Regions from separate parts of the Homo sapiens genome. Here regions 2, 3, 4, 5, 6 and 7 are each linked to region 1. The links are contacts of gene promoters, found by promoter capture Hi-C in blood cells and fetal thymus (Javierre and others, 2016). All regions are on one chromosome and are shown on one strand. Each heading gives the region's core, a stretch centred on a gene start or on the middle of the fragment in contact. The rest is flanking DNA. Distances are from core to core; before and after follow the strand shown. Region 1 holds the start of C5orf67 (chromosome 5 putative open reading frame 67). Region 2 has its middle 33 kb from the start of ANKRD55. Region 3 has its middle 16 kb from the start of ANKRD55. Region 4 overlaps LOC105378977 (a long non-coding RNA gene). Region 5 overlaps LOC105378977 (a long non-coding RNA gene). Region 6 overlaps LOC105378977 (a long non-coding RNA gene). Region 7 has its middle 52 kb from the start of ANKRD55.

What was found. Contacts are between HindIII fragments. The CHiCAGO score rates a contact against its expected background, and 5 or more counts as called.
Region 2: a contact is called between a fragment that was not itself captured here and the fragment with the promoter of C5orf67 in region 1, in 8 of 17 cell types (total B cells, neutrophils, M2 macrophages and 5 more). The highest score is 12.1, in total B cells.
Region 3: a fragment that was not itself captured here is called in contact with the fragment with the promoter of C5orf67 in region 1 in 2 of 17 cell types (activated CD4 T cells and monocytes); the score reaches 6.8 in activated CD4 T cells.
Region 4: a contact is called between a fragment that was not itself captured here and the fragment with the promoter of C5orf67 in region 1, in 5 of 17 cell types (total B cells, naive B cells, activated CD4 T cells and 2 more). The highest score is 12.1, in total B cells.
Region 5: a contact is called between a fragment that was not itself captured here and the fragment with the promoter of C5orf67 in region 1, in 7 of 17 cell types (total B cells, naive B cells, non-activated CD4 T cells and 4 more). The highest score is 12.9, in total B cells.
Region 6: a fragment that was not itself captured here is called in contact with the fragment with the promoter of C5orf67 in region 1 in 3 of 17 cell types (total B cells, naive B cells and monocytes); the score reaches 8.5 in total B cells.
Region 7: a fragment that was not itself captured here is called in contact with the fragment with the promoter of C5orf67 in region 1 in 6 of 17 cell types (naive B cells, total B cells, non-activated CD4 T cells and 3 more); the score reaches 8.6 in naive B cells.

The regions. Positions count from the first base shown.
Region 1 is chr5:56,604,238-56,607,714 of GRCh38, forward strand. C5orf67 (chromosome 5 putative open reading frame 67) reads right to left here and starts at 2,019. Exons shown (of 6, transcript NR_161255.1): 1 at 1,785-2,019. The HindIII fragment of the contact is 384 bases long and covers 1,678-2,061 here.
Region 2 is chr5:56,265,138-56,268,185 of GRCh38, forward strand. No RefSeq gene overlaps it. Among named protein-coding and RNA genes, the nearest start is that of ANKRD55, 33 kb to the left of the region's middle. The HindIII fragment of the contact is 3,064 bases long and covers 1-2,996 here.
Region 3 is chr5:56,247,962-56,251,119 of GRCh38, forward strand. No RefSeq gene overlaps it. Among named protein-coding and RNA genes, the nearest start is that of ANKRD55, 16 kb to the left of the region's middle. The HindIII fragment of the contact is 5,147 bases long and covers 1-3,158 here.
Region 4 is chr5:56,303,162-56,306,412 of GRCh38, forward strand. The region is part of intron 2 of LOC105378977 (a long non-coding RNA gene); the gene reads left to right. Among named protein-coding and RNA genes, the nearest start is that of ANKRD55, 71 kb to the left of the region's middle. The HindIII fragment of the contact is 680 bases long and covers 917-1,596 here.
Region 5 is chr5:56,331,339-56,334,403 of GRCh38, forward strand. The region is part of intron 2 of LOC105378977 (a long non-coding RNA gene); the gene reads left to right. Among named protein-coding and RNA genes, the nearest start is that of ANKRD55, 100 kb to the left of the region's middle. The HindIII fragment of the contact is 2,170 bases long and covers 394-2,563 here.
Region 6 is chr5:56,347,864-56,351,305 of GRCh38, forward strand. LOC105378977 (a long non-coding RNA gene) reads left to right here. Exons shown (of 3, transcript XR_948342.3): 3 at 2,740-3,199. Among named protein-coding and RNA genes, the nearest start is that of ANKRD55, 120 kb to the left of the region's middle. RefSeq lists an enhancer at 2,353-3,442. The HindIII fragment of the contact is 4,812 bases long and covers 1-3,442 here.
Region 7 is chr5:56,284,081-56,287,370 of GRCh38, forward strand. No RefSeq gene overlaps it. Among named protein-coding and RNA genes, the nearest start is that of ANKRD55, 52 kb to the left of the region's middle. The HindIII fragment of the contact is 4,216 bases long and covers 1-3,290 here.

The DNA of each region.
Region 1 (3,477 bases), core at 769-3,268:
AAATTCCCTGCGTGCAGCTGTAAAACATACACCTGTCCTTCAGGGACTGAGTTCAGGATAACCAAACATTCCTTATAATAAGTCTGCACACTCTGCTGTGCCAACAGAGAAGACCAATTATATGTGTGAGACGATCTGCCATGAACTACTTGGTCTCTGCTGGCCATTTTAGTACTAAAATTTATGACAGCACTAAGCAAAACTCCCAAAGTGCAGAAAGCTGGGGGCTGGGGCAGATCAAGTCAAACATGTCGCCTACACAGGCCCCTCAGTCTCCTTCCTCAAGCCAAGCTTCCACTCTTCCCCCCGCCCCGGGCCACTCTCTGCAGGACAGGGTGTTCAGAAATTGCTTGAAAAGGGAGAATTATCTTGAAACCAAAGACATTCATTTAGACTTGAACAAAGGTGGTTGTTTGAGGGAATACTAGGGAAAAAACAACTTAGAAGAAGGGAAAGGAGGCATATAGATGGAAGTTAAGTCAGACTCCACATAGTTTCAATTAATATGATTTTTGGAAAGGCTCTTACATCCTCATTTCTGTGGAGGCCGACTTGGCCAAAGTGCTGAACCAAAGTTTTGCCATATAGAACACAGCCACACAAACAGGCCCCTCCTAGTCAATCACTGAATCCAGCCTCTCCAGACTCAACAATCTGACTTAGGATCTCAGAATTCCAGGAAATACTAGGGATGGCTTGGCTGCCTCCTTGGTTATAGGTGAGGAAACAGGCGAATGGTGAAATGACTTAACCAAAGTTCCCAGAGCTGGCACATTTATAGCTGAGATCTCCCAATACTGTTGTCTTACTCCTGCACGCAAAAATTAGTGGATGTTTTGTTCTTTTTTTGTCTTTCAAAGGACTTGGTTTCATTGTTAAAAGAAACCTCACTGCAAGTTACCAAGCTGTCAAACCCTGAGGCGGGATGAGCCACTATTTTTCAAATCCGTGCACCAGTAGTGCTTCTGTGACATCACCCAACACAGAATATCTTAAAATCGATTTCAGGAATGGATCTCGTAACCAAAAAACAGCTTGTTCAGAAAGGGGCACCTATGCACGTAGCAGATGCCTTCTATCTGGTCTCCATCTTCTATCAGGTCTCCCTTTCTCTCTCTTTATTACTGCCCCCCACCTCTGGGAAACTGCCACACCCAGCCACTAAGACCAAGACTTTGCGCACTAAGACTGTGTCGACAGATAAGCAGAAAAGTACAGCACTAGTTTCATCTAGTGTTCTGCCCTGTGTTTCAGTTGAGAGAAATTTCACACATATACACAGACACAGACACACACACACATACTCTCTCTCTCTCTCTTCCTAAGAAATGAATATAGAGCAGCTAAAACCAGATAAGTTCTAGATCCCTGAGGCTTGAGACCCAAGCCTGAGACTGTTCTTAATTGGCCTCATTGACAGCAGATGCCCAGCTCCTCTGCCCCACTCTCTAGGATCCTGCACAGATGTGGCCAAATTCTTCCCCACCAAACCAGCTTTAGACTCTCCTGGGCCTGGCGATCCATGCCTTCTTCTTCACCCCTCTCCTGAAGATTCCTGTGACTATGGGTCTGGAAGCCCTTTCTGCCAAGACACCACTTTCCTCTTCTGGTCTCATTTGGTTTGTCTGACCCTTGGCTGGTTCTAATCCTTGGTGGATTCCTTCACATACTGCTCTAAGCTTGCCCTTTGACTGCATTACCTCGAGCCTTTCTACAAGGCACCAGCTCTATTTCCTGGCCAGAAGTAGAAATTCCCTCCCCCGCTGCGCAGAAGTCCCACTCACAGAATTCGGCTTCATTGCTTCTCTGCCTCTCCAGCTCCATTCCTCGAAGAGCAGAGATGACAAGATGTAGGTTCTGTGTATGCATCCATGTTCTCACTGATGGCTCAGCCAGCATCTCTAAAGTTTTTTTTAATGATTAAGGGCCTTTGGGTTCCCCTGTGGCACTTCCTTGGAGGTAAGGGCTCAGGTGAAGTTGTTCATTTGGCTGTTGATCCCAGGGGAGCACAGGGAATATGAAACAGGGAAGAGAGGAAAGCTAATAAAGAATGTGTTAAGAAGCTTTGGGCAATCAGGGCTTCCTCTAGCAGGAAACCCTTAGGAGACTGCAGAACATTCCTTGGAATGAGGGCAAGGACTTTGGATTATTTATCCAGCCAGGACTTTCCCTCTTTGGCCAAGGGTCATTCCTTGGGCAATAATTCCCTGGCACTTGCAGACTAACCTGTGTGCTTCCAAGCTCATTTCTTTTTTCTTTTTTCCTTTTGTCTTTTTTTTTTTTTGAGATGGAGTCTTGCACTGTTGCCCACGTTGGAGTGCAATGGTGCGATCTCGGCTCACTGCAACCTCTGCCTCCTGGGTTCAAGTGATTCTTCTGCCTCAGCCTCCTGAGTAGCTGGGATAACAGGTGCCCGCCACCACACCCAGCTAATTTGTTGTGTTTTTAGTAGAGATGGGGTTTCACTATATTGGCCAGGCTGGTCTTGAACTCCTGACCTTGTGATCCGCCTGCCTCGGCCTCCCAAAGTGCTGGGATTACAGGTGTGAGCCACCATACCCAGCCGCTTCCAAGCTCATTTCTATGGCTGAAGAATGCCCTCAGGCAGAGAGAAGCAGGAGGTTGTCTGTCTACACAGCATGTGACTACAGCCAAACTCTGGGGTGGCCAAGGGGACATGGGTTGGACACCAACAGCGTCTGCTACAAAAGTGGTTGTTGCCACCCCTCAGAATCCCCCTCTCTGTGTGATCTTCCAGATTCAATGTAATACGTACTGAATGCTGCCAAATATAATGTACCAGACTAGACTCAGGTAATCACAAAGATGTGTAAGACAGAGTTCTTCTCCACACAGAACTTTCAATTTGATGTAAGAGACAAACAGAAATAAAAGTCTTTATAGAAAAGTAAGTCTTTATAGAATAAAGAAGAATATGAGAAGGGCTGTATTAGAGCCATGAATCACTGGCTGTGAGAGCTGCGGGAAGATGAGATTAATTTTGACTAGAGGGAGAAGGCTATCAGGGCAGTTTTCCAAAGCTAAAATATTTTAAACATATGCTAAATCGACAGACATCCAATTCCCACCAAGAGCAAAAGAATAAACATTCTTTCGCAGGGCCCTAAAGCCAGAAAGCAGTGAAAGAATTAGAACCATTTTATCTCAATTCACAAAAGGAAATAAGTGACATCTTTCAGTATCACCCCATCTTCTAGATGCAACGTTTAAAACCAAGTCACAAGAGCAAGATGTTCTTCCTGCTCCACGTTCAACTATGCATTTGAAATCTGTTCTCATTTGTCGAAATGAGCAATTAATTAACAGTCTTTGTGAAGTTCTCAGACTCAACAAGTGTGCCCCTCTCCTGCTGCCTCTGCCACAGGCAGCCACTTTGCATGTCCCTGCTTTTGAAAGACAACTTAGGAATGAAGCTAAACGAGACATCAGCAGTTTTCCAAATCCAGGTGAAGAAAG
Region 2 (3,048 bases), core at 215-2,714, 340 kb before region 1:
TTCCTAAGCTCACTTTTTATGGGAATGAAAGGCATATGGAAAGGACTTGGTATAGTACTTGTCAGAGATGGTTATTATTTTTAGGTGACCACACCAAAGTTGTAAAATATGTTAGTGTTTGATACCTCCTTGTTGGGATTATAATATAAAATGTCTGGGGCTAGAATTTAGCCAGATCCCACTGGTGACACCTCATCTCTGGTTGGAATTTCCTGCCCTCTTCTCAAAGTACATACCTTTGTCACTTCACATGGATAATTGTTGAAGTAATTTACTTATTGTTTGTCCTGGCTTCAATGTTGCCTTCTTCATCTCCAATTTCATTCATTCATTCATTCATTCATTCTTTTTTTTTTTTTTCCAAGACAGAATCTCTCTCTGTTGCCCAGGCTGGAGTGCAGTGGCATGATCTCGGCTCACTGCAACCTCTGCCTCCTGGGTTCAAGTGATTCTCCTGCCTCAGCCTCCCTAGTAGCTGGGACCACAGGTGCCACCGCCACGCCTGTTGAGTTTTTGTATTTTTAGTAGAAAGCCATGTTGGCCAGGCTTGTCTCGAGCTCCTGGCCTTAAGTGATCCTCCTGCCTCTGTGTCCCAAAGTGCTGGGATTACAGGCGTGAGCCACCACACCCGGCCCTTTCTTTCTCTTTTTAAATATAATTTTGTCATCTTTCTTCTAGACAATAGATTATCCCTTTAAAACATTTTTCTTGTAAGACATTTACTTTTGTTAAATGGTGAAAAGTTAACAGTTTCTTATCTAGATTTATAAAGATTTTTTAAAAATTTCAACTTTTATTTTAGATACAGGGGTACATATGCAGGTTTATTACATAAATGGACTGCACCCAGGTCATGAGCATAGTACCCAATAGGTAGTTTTTCACCTCATTCCCTCCCACCCTCTCCCATCTAGTAGTCTGCAGTGTCTGTTGTTCCCATGTTTATGTCTATGTATGTTCAATATTTAGCTCCCACTTTTAAGTGAGAACATGCAGCATTTGGTTTTCTGTTCCTGCATTAACTCACTTAGGATTATGGCCTCCAGCTCCATCCATGTTGCTGCAAAGGACATGATTCATTCTTGTTTATGTCTGTGGAATATTCCATGGTGTATATGTTCTACATTTTCTTTATTCAGTCCATCATTTATTGGCACCTAAGTCAATTCCATGGCTTTGCTATTGTGAGTAGCATGGCAATGAACATATGAGTGCATGTGTCTTTTTGGTATAATAATTTATTTTCCTTTGGGCATATACCCAATAATGGGATTTCTGGGTCGAATGGTAGCTCTGTTTTAAATTCTCTGAGAAGTCGCCAAACTGCTTTCCACAGTGGCTGATCTAATTTACATTCCCACCAACAGTGTATAGGTATTCCGTTTTCTCTGCAGCCTTGCCAGCATCTGTTTTTTTTTTTTTTTTTACTTTTTAGTAATGGTCATTCTGAATGGCGTGAGATAGTGTCTCATGGTGGTTTTGATTTCCATTTCTCTGATGATTAGTGATGATGAACTTTTTTTTTTTTTTGAGATGGAGTCTCGCTTTGTTGCTCAAGCTGGAATGCAGTGACGCGATCTTAGCTCACTGCAACCTCCACCTCCCAGGTAGGTGGGTTCAAATGATTCTCCCACCTTAGCCGCCCAAGTAGCTGGGATTACAAGTGCGCCACCACACCCTGCTAATTTTTTTTTTGTATTTTTAGTAGAGATGGGGTTCCACCATGTTGACTAGGCTGGTCTCTAACTCCTGACCTCAAGTGATCCTCCTGCCCAGGCCTCTCAAAGTGCTGGGATGACAGGCATGAGCCATCGCACCCAGCCAGATGAGCATTTCTTCATATGTTTGTTGGCCACTTGCATGTCTTCTGAGAAGTGTCTGTTTAGGTCCTCTGCCCATTTTTTAATGAGGTTATTTGGTTTTTGCTTGTTGATTAGTTTAATTTCCTTATAGAGTCTGGATATTAGACTTTTTTCAGATGCATAGTTTGCAAATATTTTCTCCCGTTCCCTAGATTGTCTATTTACTCTGTTGATAGTTTCTTTTGCTGTGTAAAAGCTCTTTAGTTTAATTAGGTTCCACTCATCAACTTTGTTTTGGTTTCAATTGTTTTTATTTCCCTCTCATTTCTGAAGGCTTTTTTCAAGGAGGCCCTTCCATAATCCTAACTTCCATGTGCTTCTGTCACCTGACCACCATTATCCACCCACTAACATCCATGCAAAAAGGGTGTGCAGTGGCAGCAGGGTAACTCTTGGGACCCCAATGAGCTTTGTGCATTTTCACTTCTCAGCCTGTGTGTGCTCTCCCTCTCCTTCTCCCTCCTTCCTTGGAAGGTCTTCTCCATCCTCTCTTTACCCCAAACCACATCTACATCTCCAGGATCCCTCTTCCGTGAAGGTCTCATCCATCCCATGCTGATCTCCCCACTTTGAACTCCCTTTGCTCTTATGAGGCATTACAGATTGCTGGATATTTAAAGGCATGGTCTTTGGTGTCGGACAGCCTGGAATAAAATCCTGGCAAATGATTTAAACTTTATGTGGGTTGGTTTCCTTACCCCTAAAGTGGCAATAATTATAGTACCTACTTAATAAAGTTGTTTTGAGGATTCAACAACATGATTTATATAAAGCATTTAGCACAGTCGTTGGAACAGAGTAAACACTCAATACACTGCCACTATTACTATCCTGATCAGTATTATCAGTAAAGAGATTACTTGATACTTCTTTATTGCTTGTATCGGATTGGGCCTCATCTTCCTAGGTAGATAGCTTCTTATATTCAGGGACTGTGTCCCATGTTTCTTTGCTGCAACCCTTGCATTCATTGCCTTATATACTCCCTGAACATGGCAAGTACACCACAACTTCTTATTGCTTGATCAGTCTTGTCTAGTATTAAGAAATAAAACCGATCTTTGGTTAATTTTTAGTAAAGCCACATAGACACTGATTGAGGATGCCATTGCCATGTGCCAAGAATATCTACAAAGCTTTCTGATTAGAGACAGTGGCCCATTCAGAATTCACAGAGTAGCCTGTC
Region 3 (3,158 bases), core at 454-2,953, 360 kb before region 1:
AAAATGTGAGGTTACCAAGAAGGTTAATGGAAGAGAAGTCTGTGGCTGTTTGCTTAAAATGGTTGCTAATGGGGCAAAAGTCTCACTCTGTAGAGTTGTTCTGTTTTGTGACCAGACTGTACCCCTACCAGCCAAAAACGTCCAGGAGGATTGTGTTGCTGCAGCAACGCCAATCCCTCCCAATTGCAAGAAAAGCAACTTACAATGTGACACTCTTGGTATATGTGAGCCCCACTTTGATCACGAGCAGGGTAAAGCAATGCTTCTTAAATTTCAATGGGCACAAACGTGATCTGGGGGATCAACCGAAGATGAACTTTCTGATTTAGTAGACCAGGGTAGGGGCAGAGATTCTGGATATCTGGCAAGTTACCAGATTATGTTGGTAGTTGGTCCATCTTTTGTGCAGCAAGGGGCTAGAATATTTCTCAATAACTAAATAAAAAAAAAATACACTTAAGGGCTTCTCCATGGAGGTTCACTACTGAACAGTAAAAACTCATAAATATAAACTAAGCTCCCAAAGAGCCTCAGAAAATCAATCTCTAACAGAGGTTAGCCAGAGGTGGACACTGGTTAATATCTGGCAACTCTGACCACCTTGAATCCCCGTGTCTATTTTCAGGTAAAAATGGAGTCACCTAATGGCTAGATGTTATCAGGGCCATACATGTCAGAGCTTCCTCAGAATTCTGCCCCATTCTAGTTCTACACACACAGAAAAATTACAGAACATATCTAAGTATTTCTCCAGTATGTATACTGGAGATAATCATGATACCCATTCTGAAAGGTTGTTGTGAGGATAAACTGGGGTAACAAGGCCGTGGTGTGCTAGTGGGTCCAGAATTGGTTCCTTCTGGGTTCTTGGTCTCGCTGACTTCAAGAATGAAGCCGCGGACCCTCATGGTGAGTGTTAAAGGTCTTAAAGATGTTGTGTCCAGAGTTTGTTCCTTCAGATGTTCAGACGTGTCCAGAGTTTCTTCCTTCTGGCGGCTTTGTGGTCTCGCTGACTTCAGGAGTGAAGCCACAGACCTACGCAGTGAGTGTTACAGATTCATTCCTCCCGCTGGGTTTGTGGTCTCACTGGCTTCATGAGTGAAGCTGCAGACCTTCCAGGTGAGTGTTACAGCCCGAAAAGCCAGTGTGGACCCAAAGTGTGAACAGCAGCAAGATTTACTGGGAAGAAACAAAGAACAAGACTGCCACACCTTGGAAGCGAACCCAACAGCATTGCAGCTGCTGGATCAGGTGACCTGCTTTATTCCCTTATTTGGCCCCACCCACATCCTGCTGATTGGTCCATTTTACAGAGAGCTGATTGGTCCATTTTACAGAGTGCTGATTGGTCCGTTTGACAGAGTGCTGATTGGTCTCTTTTGACAGAGTGCTGATTGGTGCGTTTACAAGCCTTTAGGTAGACACAGAGTGCTGATTGGTGCATTTACAATCCTTTAGCTAGACAGAAAAATTCTCCAAGTCCCCACCCGACCCAGAAGCCTAGCCTGCTTTACCTCTCACTAGCACTGTCTAGAGCTGTCTAGAGAACTTTCTTATCAAAAAATGTTGTAATTGGGTTTTTCTCAAGAAATGGTAAATTGGGGTCTCTCAAACTGGATGCTACATGAGGTATGACCATATTCTGTCATTATCCCATGATTGGTCAATGCTTGGCTCTTTCACCTTGCCAAGGAAACCACTGAGTGTAATTTCAGAGTTTTGGGAGTTCATTGCTCCATCCGTTTTGATCTCCATCACAAGAAGCAGGACTCCAAGCTGTACAGTTTAAGGATGGATCCCAAGATATTATTGTCTCTCCAAAGTTTGTACTATAATGAATATGCCAAAATTAGCATGGGGAGGAACACAATGTACGTATATAGGTAATATAAAATGAGCCTGTGACCCAGTTACAGCTTTCATACATTTTTCTAAATAATCGTAGCTGGTAGATTAATTGGAAGATGGCAGCTCCCGTAGCAAGTAGGGGGGTAATTTCCCTCTGGTGCATTTGTGCTGAAAACATGGGTTTACTATTCTGAACGTAAGGGACATTAACAATCAGCCTAGCCATTCCAACACCAATAGATCTTTCATTCTTCTTTAACTGTTCTTTTCTATTCCTCTACATTTCTCTGTTTCCTCCCCTGACTCCTCTTCAATGCCTTCTGGTGAAAAGAAAGAAGTGTCTTTTCTTTTTTGAGAATGCTAGGCTGCAATTAGTGTGCCTCCTTTGACACAAAAACTTTCCCCAGAGAGGTAGATTTACAACCTACAGTCCACTAAGCACATGGGCGTTGGAGCTTGACTGGCTAAATTCTAATCCCAGTTTTATAACGTGATGCTATCTCAGTTACGCCTTATTTCCCTCATCTGTAAGATGAGAATATCTTAGTGCCTTCTTCATAAAGTTTTTGAGTGAAGTAAATTGACTTAAATATGTCAAGTTCTTAGGGCAATGCCTTACATCGTAATTCTGATAGACATTTACCTTTAAGATTTCCATCAGTTATTCTATCTCTTTGTTGTTGTCGTTTGTTTTTATTGAGATGAAGTCTTGTTCTGTTGCCCAGGCTGGAGTGCAGTGGCGTGATCTTGGCTCACTGCAACGTGCGCCTCCCGGATTCAAGCAATTCTCCTGCCTCAGCCTCCTGAGTAGCTGGGATTACAGGCACTCACCACCACACCTGGCTAATTTTTGTATTTAGTAGAGGTGGGGTTTCACCATGCCACATTGGTCAGGCTGGTCTCGAACTCCTGACCTCAGGTGATCCACCCGCCTTGGCCTCCCAAAGTGATGGGATTATAGGCATGAGCCACTGCGCCTGGCCAAGTTATTCCATCTCTTTTGCAACTTCATCTTTTTCCCTCCTCAAGAAACTTTTCCTTAGCCTACACATATATCCTTCTTCAGGCCTTAAAAAAATAAAAATGAAACAAAACTGTGATGATGTGATGTTTCTTCAAACAGATTTATTCTTTGTTTCTTGACATGATTTTGGGAATAAAAAGGCTACATTTGCTATTTCCTTTCCAGACCACCCAATCTCTGCTTGATCCAATGTAATCTGGCTTTAGCTCCCTAGCTGCTGAGGGCAAGTACTACTGTGCAGATGCTCTGATGGACAACTGTTCTGATGGAAGTTAGGATCCAGGTC
Region 4 (3,251 bases), core at 7-2,506, 300 kb before region 1:
TCCCATTTTCTAGATCTTGATGATGATGGTTCATGCTATCTTTACATTTTCTATGCTTTTAATCAAGTTATAATCAACAGTGCTTCCCGGGTAACATGCTGTCTTTTTAAAGTGATTTGTATATTCTTATTACAGCCTAATATAAACTGCTCTCGCTGTTTAATGTGTAGAAAGCAATATCATTTCACTCTTTCTAAGTTCTTAGTAGGCATCTCATGGTCACCCTCAAGTACTACTATAGTGTAGACCAGTGGTCCCCAACCTTTTTGGCACCAGGGACCAGTTTCATGGAAGATAATGTTTCCATGGAAAGGGTGGGCAAGGAATGGTTTTGGGATGAAACTCTTCCACCTCAGATCATCAGGCATTAGTTAGATTCTCATAAGGAGCACACAACCTAGATCTCTCGCATGCGTAGTTCACAGTAGGGTTTGCGCTCCTATGAGAATTGAATGCTGCAGCTGATCTGACAAGAGGCAGAGCTCAGTGGTAATGCTCACTCCCCCACTGCTCACCTCCTACTGTGCAGCCTGGTTCCAATACTGGTCCAAGGCCTGGGAGATGGAGACCCCTGGTGTAGACAATAAGGTATAGTCTTAGTTCTACTTAGTGCCATTAATGGTTGCAGTGGAGTAGAGCATCATAGCTCCCAGCTTGTGTGCTTCCGTAGGACTGGGTAACAGGCGTGTCCAAGTAATTGATCCTCTCAACCCTTGGGGAACACAGGCAGGTCCTAGATGGCTGGAACCTTTAGGTCATTCCTGCCCCACAGTGATGTCTCACAATATGAAAAAAGCTGAGAATCCCTAGGATAGTGGAATGGACCTGGAAATCAGCATACCACTATGTATGTGTGGGCACCCTTTTGCAGGTCATTGTACTCTCAGAAGCTCAGTATCTAAGCCAGGTGGGCCAAAGCTTATTTCATGCTGAATCAACAAAGTTACATCCACCTGGGCTTAAAATGAGCTTATGAGGGGAGGCAGTGCCAGGCCTGCAAGTGGAATCCAAATGGTCCCAGGTGTGGAACTAACTGCTGGACTGCAGATGCAGAGAACCAAGTGGGTCATAGCATGAACAGAAATCAGACCCTTCTCCTTTCCTCTTGGTGCTCATATTTGTCAGACTTGGGAGGCTCTGAGAGGAGAGTGGCTGGTAGCAATGTTTAAAGAGGGCAAAAACAATGAGCTGGTCATTCACTTACCCAGTGGAAAGCCCAGGGAGGAACTCAACACATTTGGGAAGCAGTGACCAGAGTAACTTAGACTACATCTCAAATTATAGCCAATAAAGTGATTGTCATTTTTCTCGCAGAAAATGTACATATTCTCTGAGCTCTAGATTTTTTGACTGTGCCATTATTTCTGATATCCCAACAATTCTTTAACATCAGGGGACCTTTTACATATACTCTATAGAGCTAACAACATTTTCTATTACTAAATGGAAATGTTGTCCAGTATTTGTCTCCACTTTCTCTGGTAAGATATTCTGCCTCCTACCTGTGGACATTTAGCTACATTCCTGGTCATTAATTGTATAGTGAATATCTTGGCTGGCGAAATTTCTTAGTCCTTTTTTCTCTTGCTGTCAGAAAGCTTTCTGGAAAGTTTTATTTTGATATCACTGTATTAGTTTGCTGGGGCTGCCCTAACAAAATACTATACACTGGGTAGCTTAAAAGACAGGACTTTATTTTCTCATGACTCTGGAGGCTAGAAGTCTGAGATCAAGGTGTTGGCAGGTTTGGTTTCTCCTGAGTCTCCTCTCGTGGCTTGTGGATGGGTGGCTTCTCCCTCTGCCTTCACATGATCGTCTCTCTGTTTTCTAATCTCCTCTTCTTGTGGGGACACCGGTTGTATTGGATTAAGGCCCACCATATTTACCTCATTTTAATTTAATACCTCTGTAAAGGCCCTGTGTCCAAATACAGTCACATTCTGAGGCCCTGGGGGTGGGGGCTTCAACATACGAATTTTGAGAGGCCTGCAGTTCAGCAATAACAGTCACTAATAGCACTGAAATGAATCTGTGGCTGGCTCAGTCCTTCAGGGCAAAAAAGGATGTAGCAGATATCTGTTTTTAATTACACTAATAGCTCACAGGATTTTAGAACAGAACATGTCTTTGGAAAAGTCATCTCATCATATGCTGTTATTTGGCAGATTAAGAAACTGAAGCCCAGAGATGTTATGTGACATCCCTAAACATATACAACTGGCATCTGATGATGACCTGAGGGTGAGGCATATGGTCAGAACTTCAGCAGAAGCAAACTACTCTACTTACATATTCTTATATATAAAGCCAAGATAAAACCATGATTGTCTTTTTGTGGCCAGGAAATGTACTCATGGAAGAAAGCCTACTTATCGTCCTGCAAATTGGTAATTTTTCCGTGGTGACTTCTCTCCTTGAATCCTGGAGTTCCCACCTGGAATGTTCCTGGCTGCCTCTCTAGCAGTGATGTGGCTGTCTGCTGAGGTGGCCTCTGCCTGTGCCAGGGCCAGCAGCAGCTTCCTGATCCTGGCTTCCTGGTCCCAGTATGGCAGCCACAGCTGCCTCCTCATACTTTCAAAGCTGATGATAAAATCACAGAATCAGGAATCCAGCTGCCACCACTGCTCTGACACATTTTCATGACCTGCTTGTCCACAGATGTAGCAGCAGGGAGATAGCTGCTGTCTTACTGCTGTGGTTTAGGTCTTGCCTAAGTGCATCCAGAACCCTAGATCCAAGAGAGTCTGGGAAATGCAGATTTTAGCTTTCCAGACTGCAGTACAGAAAAGTACATAGAAAGAGGTGGAGTGAATGGAGAGTGTCAATCAACCATACCCAGCAAAGTTATACCGTGGGTTACATGGATTTTAATTAGTAAAACAGAAGGAATCAGTGAAGACTGCTGGGAACACTGAATGGAGAGGCTTCAGGTTTCTTTAGTATGGAGTTGAACTCAGGCCCAGTGGAGATCATTTCTTAAAAATGGTAAATGGATAACTTTTTCCAACACATATGCCTTCTGCAACTAGAGTCAGCATGCAATATACCAACAAATAAATCAAGAATGGGATTATCTGTTTTCAAAATTTGCCTGGGAACAAAAAGTATTTGTATCAGAGGCTGATATCCCTTGCCCCCTGCCCCATAGCCATTCTCTTCTTCTTCCTTTTAATGACAGAAACCCCCAGAGTTTAAGATAGACACATGGCCATCAAGCTAGCGCATAGGTTGGAAAACTATGGCCTGTGGGC
Region 5 (3,065 bases), core at 229-2,728, 270 kb before region 1:
TTCCTTCTCGCTCTCGCTCCTGGTGCCCATTGACTCAGTAGACAGGCCCTAAAGAGTCTACCTTGTAAATTTTGTTCATAATCACCCTTTTCTCACTGTTTTCATGGTCACTTTCTTAGGTCCAATCTTCATACATCTTTTCTATTTCTTATTTGTAGTAGTCTCTAAATGGTTTCCTTCCCTCTATTTCCTGCCTATTCTAATTTATCCTTCATACTGTTTTCTGAATAACCATAAAATATTTTCTATCTTTAAATATAAAAAACAAAATTATAAAATATTTAAAAAATCATTTAAAATGTGCATAGAATTACAAACACTTCAGTGCCTATAACCCAAGATTAAGGACTGTTCACATTTTGGAATTTGTCTTTTGTGTATTATTATAAAAGAAGCTTCTCTTTTAATGGAACCATCTTTGCTCTACTTCCCATCTTCTATGCCATGGGTGCTCCCCAGTTTCCAACACTGTCATATATTTGTATATATCTATTTAGCTCATGTTGCGTACTTCTAATAAATATATGTATTCCTGTTTAAAAATTAAATAAATGATATAATATTGTATATGTCATTCTGCAACTTGCTTTATGACAAGTGTTTGATAACTATGTGTGCTGATATAGATGAAGATGAAATTGACTCTATACTGCTATATAATATTCTTATTACATTATACATTATGCATTATCTTGTGGGTGGGGCATTTGTGCTGTTTCTAGTTTTTTGCTGTTAATAGAATTTAAAAAATAAATATCCTTGTGTATGTCCCTGTAGTGAACTGAATGATGGCCTCAAAGATATGTTCATGTCTAATGCCTAAAATCTGTGAATATCACCTTGTATGGTGAAAGATGTTATTAAGTTAAATATCTTAAGAGGAGGAGCTTAGTCTGAATTATCTGGGTGGGCTCTAAATACAATCACATGTGAGAAAGAGAGGCAGAGGGAAGTTCAATACCACACATACAGAAGAGAAGGCAATGTGAGCACAGAGCAGAGATGCAGCCATAAGCCAAGGAAAGCCAATAGACACCAGAAGTGAAAGAGACAAGGAATGCATTCTCCTCTAGGGCTTTTGGAGGGAGCTCAACCCTGCTTCACCTGCATTTCAGGCATCTGGCCCCCTGAGCTCTAAGAGAATAAATTGTTGTTGTTTTAAGCCAAACAAACTTGTGGTAATTTGTTATGGCGGCCACAGGAGCTAACACAGTCCTGCATTACATTGAACAGTAATTTTCCACGGATTTAAACTTATGAGTCACAGGGCATGTGCAGTTTCCACTTTACTTAAATATTTAGTGAGTGTGTTACTTGCAATTGCAAAAATATGGAGCCAGCCTAATTGCCCGTCAATTAACAAGTGGATAAAGAAAATGTGGTAGATATATACCATGGAATACCACTCAGCCATAAAAAGGAACAAAATAATGGCATTCACAGCAACCTGGATGGAATTGGAGACTACTGTTTTAAGTGAAGTAACTCAGGAATGGAAAACCGAACATCATATGTTCTCACTCATAAGTGGGAGCTAAGTTATGAGGATTCTAAGGCATAAGAATGATACACTGGACTTTAGGGACTTGAGGGAAAGGGTGGGAGGGGCATGAGAGATAAAAGACTACACACTGGGTACAGTGTACACAGCTCGGGTGATGGGTGCACAAAAATCTAAGAAATTGCTGCTAAAGAACTTACTCATGTAACCAAACATGACCTGCTTCCTAAAAACCTATTGAAATAAAAAAAAAATTTAAAAAATAAAATAAAATGAGCTAAAAAGAGTGCAAAATAAATTTAAAAAAGATATTTAGCAAGTATGTTAATATTTTATTTTACTTTATTTTATTTTTCGAGACATGGTCTCACTCTGTCACCCAGGCTGGAGTGCAGTGGCATGATCATGGCTTCCTGCAAACTTGACCTACTGAGCTCAACGATCCTCCCACCTCAGCCTCCCCAGTAGCTGGGACCACAGGTGCACACCACCACACCTGGCTAATTTTTGTATTTTTTGTAGAGATAGGGGTCTCACCACATTGCCCAGGCTGGTCTCAAACTCCTGAATTCAAGCAATCCTCCCACCTCATCCTCTCAAAGTGTTGGGATTAAAGGTGTGAGTCACCACTCCCAGTCATGAGTGTGTTAATTTACACTCACCAAAGCAGTGTGTGCTCCTTTCCATTTCCCACATCTTGGCCAATTGTTGATACTGTTGGACTTTAAAGTCTTTGCCAATCCAAAGTGTGTAAAGTAGTATTTCATTATTATTTTACTCACATTTCCCTTATTACATGTGAAGCCGATAATATTTTTGTATGATTGTTGGTCATTTAGATTTCCACTTCAGTGAGTTTCCTGTTCATAGTCTCCACCCATGTTTGTTACAACTTCGGTGGTCCTTTACATTTGTGAATACTAATCCTCAGTCTGTCACTTATGGTTCAAATATTTTCTGTAAGTCTGTAAATTGTCCTTTAAAAATGATGTATTTTGAGGGAGAGAAGCTCTACATTTTAATTAAATTTTTATCAAAAATTTCAATTAAAGTTTTATCAAAAGCTTAAAGATTTACCAAACCTGTTTTTTATAAGTCATACTTTTTTTGTCTTGTCTAAGAAATCATTCCCTACCTTCAATTCATGAAGATTTTCCTATTAAATGTATACACTGTCTTTAAGTCCTATTTTTCACATTTGATCTTTAATTTATTCAGAACTTTGTATTAGTCTGTTCTTGGATTGCTATAAAGAACTACCTGAGACTGGATAATTTATAAAGAAAAGAGGTTTAATTGGCTCATGGTTCTGCAGGCTGTACAGGAAACATGGCTGAGGAGGCCTCAGAAAACATACAGTTATGGCAGAAGGCAAAGGGGAAGGAGGCACATCTTACATGGCTGGAGCGGGAGAAAGAGAAGACAAGGGGGAGGTGTTACACACTTTTAAACAACCAGGTGTCATGAGAATTCACTCACTATCATGAGAACAGCAAGGAGAAAATCTGACCCCAAAATCCAATTACTTCACAGCAGGCCCCTCCTCCAAGATTGGGGATTACAA
Region 6 (3,442 bases), core at 716-3,215, 260 kb before region 1:
CTGCTATGGATTGATTCAGTGTGTATTTGTTAGATTATGTTTTAGATCATAGTGAAAACCACTTGCCAACCCTGAAACTCTCTTTTTCTGTAGAAGTAATGGCTAATGTCCAATTATGAATGAATTGAGATGTTTTACTTTTAGCCTAATTGTATGCTTAGTCATAATTTATATTCTGAACTAAAATGGTAATCTATCAGAAATACTGTTGAATGTGAAAATTTTTCTTTTTTTTTCCTAGGATTAATAATGTTTGCTGGGCTTGTAATTTTAAGATCCTTTTTATGGACAAAGATCTTAAGCAAACAGGATGATCCTTAGGTTGACAGCAGAACAGTTAATGGAGACGTACTCTACTACTTTGTTGTTGACCACTGGCTATTTGGGGAACAGTGTCAGGTGGATTTGGCATGGCTATTAAAATAATCAACTTAAATAAAAAATACATCCCAATATAATTCCCTTGTAGTTCTTTTAGTTGGATTTGAAACTGTTCCACAACTGAAATTTGGAAAATCAAGTTATATTGAAGGTGGAGGGAGGAATGGTTGGCTGAATTTAAATGACAGATTTAATTGTTTTGTTTTGTTGGAGAATACTGTCTATAAATGTCTAAGAATTTGGTGTTAGAAGTTTGTACACTATTCTAAAAAGAAGGAAATAGAGGATCAAACTTACAGTTAACAAACTATTTGCAAAGAAAATATCTCTTAACACCCTAGAAAGGCAAAGAAAATTAATGTGAACACACCTAAGGGCAATTAACACTTATAAAATGAAAGTACATTATATTGACAGCTTTATCTTTTTTGTTTGCTTTTTTTAAAAAATGAACAGAGCTTGAAGTGTTAATTTTAAAAATCAGGGCTGGGCACAGTGGTTCATGCCTGTAATCCCAGCACTTTGGGAGGTCGAGGCGGGTGGATCACGAGGTCAGGAGATCTGAGACCATCCTGGCTAACACGGTGAAACCCCACCTCTACTAAAAATACAAAAAATTAGCTGGGGGTGGTGGTGGGCGCCTGTAGTCCCAGCTACTCGGGAGGCTGAGGCAGGAGAATGGCGCGAACCCGGGAGGTGGAGGTTGTAGTGAGCCGAGATCGTGCCACTGCACTCCAGCCTGGGTGACAGAGCGAGACTCCATCTCAAAAATAAATAAATAAATAAATAAATAAAAAAAATAATAAAAATCACCTGAGGGTATTTTAATGTTTCTGGTAAAATTACTGATGCTCATGATGGCAGCCTTTCTGGCACTTTTCAGTTTACATGTTTGGATTTGTAGTCATGCCTTGCTTAACTATGGGGATACGCTCTAAGAAATGCATCATTAGGCGATTTTGTCGTTGTGTGAACCTCATACAGTGTACTTATACAAACCTAGATGGTATAGCCTACTATACATCAATATCAAAGCTATATGGTATTGTGTATTGCTCCTAGACTACAAACCTGCACAGCATTTTACTGTACTGAAAACTGTTGGTCATTGAAACATAACAGTACCCAAATGGCATTTGTGTATCTGAACATATATAAACATAGAAAAGGTAAAAATACAGTGTTATTATCTTATGGGGTCACCGTCATATCTGTGGGGTCACCGTCATATTATATGGGGTCACGGTCTGTCAGTGACCAAAATGTCATTATGCAGTGCATAACTATACATACAAGTGACATAAATTCTGTGGAGAGAAGTTTTAAGCACATTTGTGAAACAAGCTACAGAAGAACTTTTGTTTTACATTTTTATTGTGTATTTGGATGAGGGGAATAAACTGCTGACATAATTTGCTGATGATTCAGAATTGGCTATCAGCAGAATTATAATCCTGGCGAAGATGGAGGAAAAAATATAGAGAGACCTCCTGTGACAAAAAATGAGTGGAAAATTGTCACAAAATCACTTTTGGTGGTGAGGGGTAAGGGGATTGCCCCTGGGGAAAAATAAGTCATTGGATCATGCGGGTTGAGAGAGGCCGAATGAAGAGCACCTGAATGCTCTTGGCTGTCTTACCCAGCCCCAAATCCTCACTCAACACCCAGAAATGGGAATTATCTCCTTGCCAAGATGGGGAAACTGAGTCTCAGATGGATCGACAAACTTGGCAAGGTCTATAAGCAAAATAATAGAGGATGTAGGAATTCAAACTCATGGCTTCCAGGCACCAAAGTCCTCACTGAGAAAAACAGGGTGAACATAGAAAAATGACACTCTGAGAGAGAGACCCATTGAAAAGAAGTGGACAGTGAGCTTGGGTTTTAAATGTGATTCACTGACCAGCTGACTGAGAGGAAGTTTCAAAAGGTCTGTAGCACAGTGGGCTGAGGGACACTGCAATTCTTCTCCCTTCAACTCCCAGAGACTAAGTCCAGCAGTATGGGCTTCAACCAGGGGCACTTTGGTACCAGAAGGATACAGGCTGGACAGATTCCAATAGAGCAATAAAAAGAGTAAAGGAAACAGAGATTTATCTGTCGAAGGATGCATGAGTCCAAGCACTTGTAGCTTGCATTAATGGGGAGGAGAGGACGATGGATGGCAACTCTTTGAAGTGTGTGTCTGCATTTAAGGAGTGATTAGCTTATAGCAGGAGTACATCCAGGAGTGGGAAGTGACGAAATGTGGATGAGAAACCTCTAAACTGATAGCAGAAAATGGTTTTTGGAAGAGTTACAGGGCAACTCCTTGAGGCTCTGATGTTTTTCACTTTTCCTGACTCACTTGTTTTCCAGGAGTCCCAGTGTCTCCTGAGGAAATCCCTTTCCCATTCAGCCGGCAGCTGCAGCAGGTGGGATGGGCCAGACCAGCCCTCTGGGGATGCTGATCCCAGGGAGCATCCAGGCCGGAAGGTCCAAACGGGCAAGTGACTCATTTGCTTTTCCTCCCTTGGTCATGTCTATGACTCATACACTTTCATTCAGTCCCAAGTATGAGAAAGGAACATCAAAAAGTCCAAGATGTTATCAAATATTTGATGAAAAAGAAAATTCCCCTCTCATATGACCCTTACAGAAAATGTTTATTTAGTCTTTTCATTTTGTTGACATTTCTTTGATTTATCAACATTGAGAAGGTACAGTGAGGAGAAGGAAGGCTGTTAAGTGAGACAAAGGAGGGTTAGGATGGCTCAGTCATTGCTCCCCCGAGGGAGTGATCTAAGCTGCTCACCCACAGACAGAAAGGGTAAATGGGCTAGCTCTTCATTAATAAGAAAGGACTCTTCGTTTGAGTAAGTGAGGAGTATTTACAGTGCTGTGTTTGTAATCACATGGTGCCTGTGTATAGATGGCTGGGAGACAGGATAAAGGGATGGGTGATTTAAAAGCATCAACTTTGGTATCAGATGGATCTGGAGTGGAATTATGGATCTGTCACTTATTAGCTGTGCAACCTTCAGCAAGATCCTTGAGTGCTCTGAGACTTAGCTTTCAGATC
Region 7 (3,290 bases), core at 698-3,197, 320 kb before region 1:
AAAGCTAAATGGATCTATTATTTGAAAGAAACTTGAAAGAAAATTTTGCATATCTACAAGGAGTGTGGTATGAAGGAAAAAAGATTAACATATCCAAATAATGGTCCTGGCTCTGTCACTAACTAACCTTGTGATCCTGGGCAGGTTTAACACTCTGGGCCCCAGTTTACAGACACCTACTGCCTCCAGAACAGTTCTTCCCAGTCTGACTTCTTAACCCATCGTATTCAGGCTTTCATCCCCAGCACAACCTACCTGCCCATTGAGAACTGTTAGTGACTCCAAATGGTCCATCCCGGTGGCTTCTTACCTGGTCTTGATCTCCTTGACTTCAGAGAGAGTGGCACTTGGCATTGTGGGCCATCGCCTCTGCAGATTCTTCTTCTTCTTTTTTTTTTTTTTTTGAGACGGAGTCTTGCTCTGTCTCCCAGGCTGGAGTGCAGTGGCGCAATCTCTCACTGCAAGCTCCGCCTCCCGGGTTCACGCCATTCTCCTGCCTCAGCCTCCCGAGTAGCTGGGACTACAGGCGCCCGCCACCACGCCCGGCTAATTTTTTGTATTTTTAGTAGGGACAGGGTTTCACCGCGTTAACCAGGACGGTCTCGATCTGCTGACCTCATGATCCGCCCGCCTCGACCTCCCAAAGTGCTGGGATTACAGGCGCGAGCCACCGTGCCCGGCCCAGATTCTTCTTAACTTTGCTTCAGAAGCGCCATCCTTGAGGTTCTCCTACTCAGCACCTATATGTCCTTCTCTGTTTCCTGCATCCTCAGACAGTTGATCCCAAGGATGGACCCTTCCTCTTTCCAGGGCTCCTCCCTTGGCATTCTCTTTCAGTTGCTTAATTTCAGTCATTACCTCCTTGCAAGGGATTTAGTTCTTTATCTTCAGCTCTGGCTTTTGTCCCTTGTTCTAGTTGAAGTTTCCAAGTGCCTGTTGGACATCTCTGCCAGCACTAGGAAATTCACTAGTTGCAAACCAGAATGCATTTTTTTTTCCCTGTTATCCCTCTCTGTTTCATATTTCTATCCATGGAACCATTGTTCTCCTGTCACTCAAAGTATTTTCTCTCTCTCTTTTTTTTTTTTTTTGCAAATAACTGTACTCTAAAAGAATCATAACACCTTGGAGAAGTTCATCTGAAAGGGATCCCAGAGGTGGTATCTCACAGTGGGAGGCATTGTGGCTATAGGCAGGTGTGGCCTGTGGACTTGAGTCAATCTGTATTTGAATGCTGGCTTAGTTACTTGCTTGCCGAGTGGCCTTTGGAAAGTTACTTAACTTCTCTGTGCCTCAGTTTCACACTTGTAAAATAGAGATAATACCTTAAAAGGTTATTGTTAGCATCAATTAGATGATGTATGTGAAGTCCTTAGTAAAGGGCCTATAACTTATTAAATATTCAATGAATAATATTTATTATCAAGGATACTACCCACTCATTTTTCAGATGGTGAAACTGATGACCGAAGAGATAAGTGAATAACAGGGTAAGAGTTGGGACTAGAAACGTGTCCGATGACTTCAAGATCTGTGTGCCTACCTACATTTTTTTTTTTTGAGATGAAGTCTCCTTCTGTCACCCAGGCTGGAGTGCAGTGGCGTGATCTCAGCTCATTGCAACATCTGCCTCCCGGGTTCAAGCGACCTCAGTCTCCTAAGTAGCTGGGTCTACAGGCATGTGCCACCATGCCCAGCTAATTTTTCTATTTTTAGTAGAGATGGGGTTTCGCCATGTTGGCCAGGCTGGTCTTGAACTCCTGACCTCAGGTTACCCACCTGCCTTGGCCTCCCAGAGTGCTGGGATTACAGGCGTGAGCCACCGTGCCCAGCCCTACCTACATTTTTTAAGGCAATTTATGTATAAGCTAGGGAGTAATGATTGGAAACAGTAAGAAAACCATCTTTGGAGGGGTTTATTTTTATATCTGAAGTTCCTCCGGGAAGGGGTCATGTCTCTAACTTGCTGTCAAGTCTTAATTATTTATGCTAATTGGGACCAAGAAAACTTGGTTAAATGAAAAGTCCATATAGTCTCCAAATGCCTTTTAAATAACAACTTCAACCTTTTCTTTAATTATCATTTATCTGTTTGTTGGAGGTACTACAACAATGTAGAAACAGAACATGAAAAATAGCAAAATGCTTGAGTCACAGATTTCTAACTATGTTTCAAAAGAGAATTACAAATAAGTTCAGCTCAAAAGAAATCTCAAAGATTTTGAAAAATAGACATGGAATGAAGGCATTGTGATATATAAAAATAAATGAAAGAAATTCCACATACATTGTTATCAATGTCTGGAAGTGCTCCATGTTTGGGAGGAGATTAGCCCCTGGTTGCTAATGCTGTTTTTCATATTTACTTATCTTGTTAACTTCATTAAACCTAACAGGAAATAATTTCAGCATCACAGCTAATTTATTTTGACATCCCAAGAGTGCTATTTTATTTTTTTAAATTGTGCCTGCTGCTTTCTATCAAACCATACCCCAACTGAAGGGGCATCTGTTATTGGAATGTCTTTTCAAAAATAACAGTGGAGTCTAAATGTCTGGAAGGTTTACAATAAAATCTTCTATTTGGAGCCAACATTTGCGATGGGAGGCTTGGGTTTATTTTACTTTATTTTTTAAGTCTTTCCAGACTTTTGAGAAAGTCATCATGTGTGATCATGTTTCTTCAGCTGAATGTGGTCAATTCAATCTGGCTCACTGAGGGTTGGGGAAGGGGAATCTCCCAGGAGGCATGAAGTAAACAGCATGTTCTGGATGTGTCTATTGGGCAGAGGTATGAGTTCCAGGTTTTGTTTCTTTTTGAGTTAGAGTCTTGCTCTGTCACCCAGGCTGGAGTGTCACAACTCACTGCAGCCTCCAACCTCTGGGCTCAAATAATCCTCCTGCCTCAGCCTTCTGAGTAACTAGGACTACAGGTGTGTGCCACCATGCCTGGCTATTTTTTTTCTTTTTTTGTAGAGATGGAGTCTCACTATGTTGCCTAGGCTGGTCTTGAACTCTTGGCCTCAAACAATCCTCCCAAAGTGCTGGGATTACAGGTGTGACACACCACTGCACCCAGATGAATGCCATGACTTTTAAAGGGAACTCCTTATTTCTACCTAGAGTCAGTTTCCAGTGGCTTCTGTTTTGAACAGTTTGGTCATCCTGTTACAGTAGGTAGCTAGTCAGATATGAGCAGGGCAGGAAAGGGCCCCCTGCCTCCCACTAGGAATGTCAGGCGACCATCAGGTGATGGTTGGAGGTTGTTAAACTGCCTCTCTAAAATAATA